Regions from separate parts of the Homo sapiens genome. Here all the other regions are linked to region 3. The links are contacts of gene promoters, found by promoter capture Hi-C in human tissues and cell types (Jung and others, 2019). All regions are on one chromosome and are shown on one strand. Each heading gives the region's core, a stretch centred on a gene start or on the middle of the fragment in contact. The rest is flanking DNA. Distances are from core to core; before and after follow the strand shown. Region 1 overlaps RAP1GAP2 (RAP1 GTPase activating protein 2). Region 2 overlaps OR1D2 (olfactory receptor family 1 subfamily D member 2). Region 3 holds the start of TAX1BP3 (Tax1 binding protein 3).

What was found. The method cuts DNA at HindIII sites, captures the fragments that hold promoters and counts their contacts. A contact is called where the count stands out against the background at its distance.
Region 1: a contact is called between a fragment that was not itself captured here and the fragment with the promoter of TAX1BP3 in region 3, in 1 of the 25 tissues and cell types used here (spleen).
Region 2: a fragment that was not itself captured here is called in contact with the fragment with the promoter of TAX1BP3 in region 3 in 4 of the 25 tissues and cell types used here (dorsolateral prefrontal cortex, liver, mesendoderm cells and 1 more).

The regions. Positions count from the first base shown.
Region 1 is chr17:3,010,222-3,012,921 of GRCh38, reverse strand. All of the region lies in intron 17 of RAP1GAP2 (RAP1 GTPase activating protein 2), which reads right to left. Among named protein-coding and RNA genes, the nearest start is that of RAP1GAP2-AS1, 46 kb to the right of the region's middle. RefSeq lists an enhancer at 1,642-2,143. The HindIII fragment of the contact is 3,054 bases long and covers 1-2,700 here.
Region 2 is chr17:3,085,940-3,088,639 of GRCh38, reverse strand. OR1D2 (olfactory receptor family 1 subfamily D member 2) reads left to right here. Exons shown (of 2, transcript NM_002548.3): 2 at 1-156. Among named protein-coding and RNA genes, the nearest start is that of OR1D2, 17 kb to the left of the region's middle. The HindIII fragment of the contact is 7,207 bases long and covers 1-2,700 here.
Region 3 is chr17:3,667,150-3,669,849 of GRCh38, reverse strand. TAX1BP3 (Tax1 binding protein 3) reads left to right here and starts at 1,272. Exons shown (of 4, transcript NM_014604.4): 1 at 1,272-1,362. The coding sequence starts at 1,324. It overlaps EMC6 (ER membrane protein complex subunit 6), which reads right to left and starts at 1,038. Exons shown (of 2, transcript NM_031298.4): 1 at 951-1,038; 2 at 185-752. The coding sequence starts at 703. The coding sequence ends at 371. It overlaps P2RX5-TAX1BP3 (P2RX5-TAX1BP3 readthrough (NMD candidate)), which reads left to right. Exons shown (of 15, transcript NR_037928.1): 12 at 1-792. RefSeq lists enhancers at 1-352, 353-883, 1,416-1,946, 1,947-2,478 and a silencer at 985-1,324. The HindIII fragment of the contact is 19,427 bases long and covers 1-2,700 here.

The DNA.
Region 1 (2,700 bases), core at 52-2,551, 660 kb after region 3:
GCAAGTATCATCACTTTTCATTGCATTACGGACCAATAACAACCTCATCAACAGCTGGCAGTAACTGAGAATGGCACTGGAAAATGGTCTAGAGATCAGCATCGTTCAAACATAACGTACAGCTCTTTCATCGTGAAAGCTGTTCTCGCAAGACTCCCGAGAATCTGCTCACAGACCCCCAACCCCAGTGGCCCCATGGGCTGCGTATGCAGTGCTGACTTCAGGCCTTACCTATTTACCCTATAGGAACATCTCTTAATTTGGAGTGATCACTGCAAACTTTAGGTTTGTTTTTTTTTTTTTTTTTTTTTTTTTTGAGACACAGTCTGGATCTGCTGTGCAGTGGCGCAATCTCAGCTCACTGCAACCTCCACCTCCCAGGTTTGAGCAATTCTCCTGCCCCAGCCTCCCAAGTAGCTGGGATTACAGGTGTGCACCACCACGCCCATCTGATTTTTGTATTTTTAGTAGAGACAGGGTTTCACCACGTTGGCCAGGCTGGTCTCGAACTCCTGACCTCAGGTGATCCACCTGCCTCGGCCTCCCAAAGTGCTGGGATTACAGACGTGAGCCACCGCGCCCAGCCAAACGTTCAGTCTTTATAATTGGAAGGTTTTTTTTTTTAGATCTAAGTGAAAATGCAAACTTTAGAAGTGTTTGTAGAACCAGCAGATTCCTGAGACTATCTCCAAGCAGTTCAGCTTGAAAAGTAGGTCTAGATGTCCAAAAGCCAACTGTTCTGTGTCTCATGGGAGAAACGCTTCCATTACAGCTGGGAGGACAGAAGTGAGCTGTAAGGAACTGCTCCAAGCGGGGTGAGGTGCCAGGCGGCACAACACAGGGCAATGGCAGGCCTGCTGCTCAGGAGAAAGATCAAGGGTCAGTGCTGACGTGGGGGAGCAGCAGCCTCACCAGGGGCAAGGATGGATGGCTGAGATGGCTTTCAGCCCTGGGGATTCTCAGTTATGCTCCCATCAGCCTGGGAAATGAGAACTTTGACAGGAAGGAGGCCGGGCGCAGTGCCTCACGCCTGTAATCCCAGCACTTTGGGAGGCCAAGATGGGCGGATCACCTGATGTCAGGAGTTCAAGATCAGCCTGACCAAGATGGTGTCCCTACTAAAAATACAAAAAATTTAGCCATGTGTGGTGGCGGGCACCTGTAATCCCAGCTACTCGGGAGGCTGAGGCAGGAGAATCGCTTGAGCCCGGGAGGCAGAGGTTGCAGTGAGCCGAGGTCGCACCACTGCACTCCAGCCTGAGCCTGGGCAACAAGAGCAAAACTCCATCTCAAAAAAAAAAAAAAAAAAAAACTTTGACAGGAAGAGATAAAGGCCTGTAACTTTTCTTCCTGGAACATTTCAGGTATCACTTGTTTCAAGAGCGATCCCAGGAAGGTGTGGGTGAACTCCCTAAGCAACGTCCTGTTGACACAGCAGCACCGCCCAAGGTGCCCAGGAAAAAAAAATACCAAAACTAGGGATGGTTTCCTGAGCTGGGCCAGACACACAGGCCTGGCCACAGGCATGGCCTAAACACCAGAATCCACCCCAGGCCCCAGGGCTCCATTCGGCTGAGCCTGGCCTGTCCCCAGCTCAGGCCTCCATGCTTGGGAGATGTGAGGGCAATGACGAAAGGGACAGGGAACAGGAGCTCGTGCTCCCCAGGTGGGAGGGAAAAAAGCTGGTCACAAATGGCCGGGCGCGGTGGCTCACACCTGTAATCCCAGCACTTTGTGAGGCTGAGGTGGGCGGATCACCTGAGGTCAGGAGTTCGAGACCAGCCTGGCCAACATGGTGAAACCTCGTCTCTACTAAAAATACAAAAAGTTAGCCGGGCGTGGTGGCGGGCACCTATAATTCTAGCTACTCAGGAGGCTGAGGTAGGATAATCACTTGAACCCGGGAGGCAGAGGTTGCAGTGAGCCAAGATTGCACCACTGCACTCCAGCCTGGGTGACAAAGCAAGACCCTGCCTCAAAAAAAATTAAAAAATAAAAAAATTTAAAAAAAATCTGGTCACAACCGTCAGGGCCCTGAAGCTTACTCTGTGTGACTGTCACAGTCTCTCCCACGCCCCACGGTGCTACCTCAGGTAGGTGTGAGAGCAGAATCTGGAAGCAGGCCTGTCTTCAACCTACAGTTGCAGGGTTTTAGTATTGAAAAGAATTCCCTGGATCACTGGATCAAAGATGAGTCGTGATAAAGTCTTAAAGTGTTTCCTCTCTTGTAAGCCCCTCTAGGAATACGTCAGACCCCCTCGAGTCAAGCACAGATCAACTGCGACTCCTGCCAGAGGCGGGGGACTGGACAGAGCGGCCTCAGGCCACTCTCTTTATACCTGCCACCTGTATTTAGCTGCTGGACCACCTCCTCCATTGGGCACCATGGGCAGAGTGTCCACAGCCTACAAGCATCTCCAGGATATAGAAATACTTGAAACCTGAAAAACCAATTAACTCCAAAATACTACAAGAAACCTGCAAAACTCAAAACAAGTGCTTCATTAAATGTCTACAAAATACAACATTATGTTGGCTCCCCAACTGCAGCTCAACTTTTCTTTTTTTTTTTTTTTTTTTTTTTTGAGACAGTCTCGCCCTGTCTCCAGGCTGGAGTGCAGTGGCGTGATCTCGGCTCACTGCAACCTCCGCCTCCCGGGTTCACGTGATTCTCCTGCCTCAGCCTCCTGAGTAGCTGGG
Region 2 (2,700 bases), core at 82-2,581, 580 kb after region 3:
CCCAGTCACGTACCCCCTGCTTGCTCAATTGATCATGACTCTCTCACGCAGACCCCCTTAGAGTTGTGAGCCCTTAAAAGGGACAGGAATTGCTCACTGGGGGAGCTCAGCTCTTGAGACAGGAGTCTTGCCGATGCTCCTGGCCAAATAAACCCCTTCCTTCTTTAACTTGGTGTCTGAGGAGTTTGGTCTGCAGCTCTTCCTGCTAAAAAAGATACAGGATATGAAGGATATGAAAGCAAAAATCTTCAGTGAAATAGATAGCATAAATAAAAAACAATCACAACTTCTGGAAATGAAAGACATATTTAGAGAGATGTAAAATGCACTGGAAAGTCCCAGCAATAGAAACAAACAAGTAGCAGAAAGAACTTCAGAGTTCAAAGACAAGGCTTTCAAAAGCCCAACCCATCAAAGACAAAGAAAACAGAATTTTAAAAAATGAACAAAGCCTCCAAGAAGATTGTGATTATGTAAAATGGCCAAACCTAAGAATGACTGGTGTTCCCAAGGAAGAAGAGGAATCTGAAAGTTTTGAAAACATATTTGAGGGAATAATTGAGGAAAGCTTCCCTGGCCTTGTGAGACATTTAGACATCCAAATGCAAGAAGCTGAAAGAACAACTGGGAAATTCATCACAAAAAGATCATCACCTAGGCACATAGACATCAGGTTATCCAAAGTCAAGATGAAGGGAAGAATCTTAAGAGCTGTGAGGCAAAAGCATCAGGTAACGTATAAAGAAAAACCTATCAGGTTAATGGCAGATTTCTCAGCAGAAACCCTACAAGCTAGAAGGGATTAGGGTCCTATCTTTAGCCTCCTTAAACAAAACAATTACCAGCCAAGAATTTTGTATCCCATGAAACTAAGCTTCATAAATGAAGGAGAGATAGTCTTTTTCAGACAAACAAATGCTGAGAGAATTCGGCACTACCAAGCCAGCACTACAAGAACTTGTAAAAGGAGCTCTAAATCTTGAATCAAACCCTTGACATACACCAAAATAGAACCTCCTTCAGGCATGAATCTCACAGGACCTATAAAACAATAACAAAATGGAAAAATAAAACAAGCTCTTCAGGCCATCAATTAGCATGACAAATAGAATAGTAGCTCATATCTCAATAGTAATGTTGAATGTAAATGGCCTAAACACTCCACTTAAAAGATACAGAATGGTAGAATGGATAAGAATTCACCAACCTAGTACCTGCCATCCCCAAGAGACTCAGCTAACACATAAGGACTCACATAAACTTAAGGCAAAGAGGTAGAAAAAGATATTCCATACAAATGGTCACCAAAGCAAGCAGGAGTAGCTATTCTTAGACGAAACAGACATTAAACCCACAACAGTTAAAAAAGACAAAGACGGACACTACATAATGATAACAGGACTAGTACAAAAGGAAAACATCACAATCCTAAATATATATGCACCTAACACTGGAGCTGCCAAATTTATAAAACATTTACTACTAGACCTAAGAAATGAGATAGACAACAGCACAATAATAGTGGGGGATTCCATACTCCACTGTTAGCACTAGACATATCATCAAGACAGAAAGTCAACAAAGAAACAATGGACTTAAACTATATCCTAGAACAAATGAACTTAACAGATATTTATAGAACATTCTACCCAACAATTGCAGAATATGCATTCTACTTATCAGCACACGAAACATTCTCAAAGATAGACCATATCATGGGCCACAAAACAAGTCTCAATCAATTTAAGAAAATTGAAATTATATCAAGTACTCTCTCAGACCACACTGGAATAAAATTGGAAATCAACTCCTAAAGGAACCCACAAAACCATCCAAATACATGGAAATTAAATAACCTGCTCCTGAATGATTGTTGGGTCAACAACAAAATCAACAGGAAAACTTAAAAATTCTTTGAAATGAATGATAATAGGGACACAACCTATCAAAATCTCTGGAATACAGCAAAAGTAGTACTAAGAGAAAAGTTCACAGTATTATTACATTAAGAATTCTAAAAGAGCACAAATAGACAACCTAAGGTCACACCTCACGGAACTAGAGAAACAAGAACAAACCAAACCCAAACCCAGCAGACAAAGAGAAATAACAAAGATCAGAGGAGAACTGAAGGAAATTGAAAAATAAAAATAAAAATCATAAATGAAACAAGAAGCTGGTTCTTTGACAAGGTAAAAAAAAACTGATAGACCATTGGCAAGATTAACAAAGAAAATAAGAGAAAATTCAAATAAGCTCAATTAGAAAAACGTGGGAGATATTACAACTGATACCACAGAAATACAAAACATTATTCAAGGCTACTATGAATACCTTCATGCACACAAGCTGAAAAACCTACAGGAGATGGATAAATTCCTGAAAATGTACAACCCCCCTAGATTAAACTAGGAAGATATAGAAACTCTGAACAGACCAATAAGCAGCGATATTGAAATGATAATGAAAAAAATGACAACAAAATAAAGTCCAGGACCAGACAGATTCACAGTTGAATTGGTACCAATCCTATTGACACTATTACACAGGATAGAGAAAGAGGGAATTCTCCCTAAATCATTCTATGAAGCCAGTATCACTCTAATACCAAAACAAGGAAAGGACATCACAAAAAAAGAAAACTACAGACTAATATCTCTGATAAACATAGGTGCAAAAATCCTCAACAAAATACTAGCT
Region 3 (2,700 bases), core at 23-2,522:
TCTTAGGATGTTAATAAGTTCTTTCCTTATGTAGGCCCTTAGGGCCCGTTTCTGAATGGCCTATGTGTAAATACAAGGACTTAACACAAGGCTATGGCCCATTCCTTGCTCTCCAGGAGTCAAATCTCGGCGATTTTGCATCAGTGGCAGCCTAAGCGTTACAGCAGGAAAGAACTCCACAAAGTGTCTCACGCTTCATTTAATCTGAAGAATATTACAGGCTCTCCGTCTTCAGATATAAATTATTTATAACGTTACAGAACAAGCAGCGAATTCAACCACTTAAGAACTAAGGAAGTCTACATGGTGTTAATTGCTGGCCACAGTCCTCCCGATCTGGTTTTTTAAAAAAGTCCCCCGGGCCCCCATTTCAGTAGACGTGCACCATGCCGTAGAGGAACGTCCAGAACAGGACGTAGGTGAAGAGGCCCCCGATGAGGCCTCCTGTAAAGAGAGGTCTCCGTGATTTGAAATATTTGTTCCACCTCCTTCCCGCCTTGAGAATGAGGAGCAGGGAGAGCAGGACGGAGGCGAGCAGGTAGAAGATGAAGCCGTAGAGGCCGGTGAGGCCGAGGATGCCGGCCGTGGCCCCCGACAGCGCTGACACCGAGGTCCGGCAATAATCCAGGACGGCGGCGTTGCCCCGCACGGCCGCCTCGCTGATGAACGGCGGCCCTTCCCGCTTGGCCACCACCGCGGCCATCGCACCAGCCCGGGCTCGGCCTCTCGCTTTCTCGCGGAACAACGCGGAGCTGCGGAGAAAACCAAGTTACAAGTGGCGCCCGGAGCTCGGTGAGTTGGGTTCACGCCGCCCCCTCCCCCTGGAGCTTCCGAGACCTGGCACCAGTCCTGGGCCTCGGATCTTCCAAAGACGCCGAGGAGATTGAGGGTCCGGGCCGGCCGGGAGGTGGTGGCGCGTCTGCGTTCCCCGGCCACGGTGGCCCAGTTACCTGGAACACGGCGCCGGACACACTACTTAGCGTTCCCTCAGACGGGCAGTGGAAGAAATGCCCGCGGCGCCATCTTGCTCGGAAGACTGCCGGGAGGTCTCGGGCTGCGCACGCGCCCAGATCCCGCCCCGCCCTCCGCGCCTGCGCCGTGGGCGCCCCGGACACGCTCCGCCCTCTGCCCGCTTTTCTGCGCACGCGCAGGGACTTCCGAAAGCGGAGTGGCGCTCCGGCCAGTGATTGGCTGGAGGTTTGTTAACTATTCATGAGGGGGCGGGCCGAGCGGGGCGGCCTTTGTTAAGCAGCGAGGGCGCGACCGCGGGTACTCTGCTGCCGGCTTCTCGGAGCGGCGCTGGGCGACCAGAGCAGGGTCGAGATGTCCTACATCCCGGGCCAGCCGGTCACCGCCGTGGTGGTGAGTGCGCTTGCGCGGGCTCCTCCTCGTCTTGGCCTGACCCCACCTCGCAGAGCGGGAAACGGACACCCCAAGCAGGTTGACAGAGCATCGAACCCGGGGCTCCTGCGAACCGGCGGCAAGGGCTCGGGTCCCCGCTTTGCCGGAGCGGGCCGCAGTTCCCCCAGCCACGAAACAGGGATGGCCGGGACCCGAGAGCCTCCCGAGACCCTGGACAGAGCCCAGACTGCGTGCGCAGGGCGGGGAGGGCCACGGGGAAAGGCCTGGCTGCAGGAGCCTGGAAAAGCGCCCCCTTCCCGGGCCTCCGTGTCCCCAGACGGGGAGCTGCTGGGGGCGGGCGCCGATCCCGACGTCCATGAGTCGCAGCCTCTGGAATGAGGAAATGCTTCCTCCGCTGCAGCCTGCGCCGCCGCCCGGAGGGAGATCTGGGGGTGGGGCTCTCCCGAGCCTGCCGTGGCAGCCCCTGCCCCCTTCCTGTCCAGCCTTGCTCCTCCAACCCACTCGCCGCCTGGTCCAGGGTGGACGCTCGTATAGCTGCGATGAGCGTTTCCTCTTCGAACTTTTCCTGGGTCTCCAGCCCTTAAGGCAAAAAAGTCCAGGCCTCCCTCCTGGCACTTGAGTCCTGAGTAGACCCTCCGGGGGCTAGCCTAGGCCCCTGGCCGCCCTCTGGCTTGTTTTAGGTGCTGGGTGCTATTAGACTAGGCAGAGGGAGGAAGGAAGGCTGGGACGTTAGACTCAGACGCCGGTGTCACAGAGGGACACAACCCTATGACAGAGGTGGGGAGTCCCAGAGAGAAGTGCTCAGCCAGAAAAGACCACCTCAGGAAAGACTCAGGTCTCCTGCCTACCTCCCGACAGCGTTCAGAGAATGAGAAGAAATGCCTGCCCGGTGGGCAGTAGGTCAAGCGAAAGTCCCCGCCCTGGAGCCATAGGGACTGGGTGTGTTATCTCAGTTGGGTGTGCTGGAGAAGCTCCAGCAATCAGGTGGGTGGAGGCAGAGAAGCCACTGATAAAGGCGACAAGTGAGGCTGAGCTTAGAGCACTGGCTCAGGCCTGGGCCAGGAGGAAACATTGCTGGACCAGCTGACAGCTGTCCTAAGCTTCACCCTCCCTGCACCAGCTTGACTTTTTTTTTTTTTTTTTTTTTGAGACAGTCTTGCTCTGTCGCCCAGGCTGGAGTACAGTGGCGCGATCTCGGTTCATTGCAACCTCCGCCTCCTGGGTTCAAGCGATTCTCCTGCCTCAGCCTCCCGAGTAGCTGGGATTACAGGCATGCACCAGCATGCCCAGCTAATTTTTGTATTTTTAGTAGAACGGGGTTTCACCATGTTGGCCAGG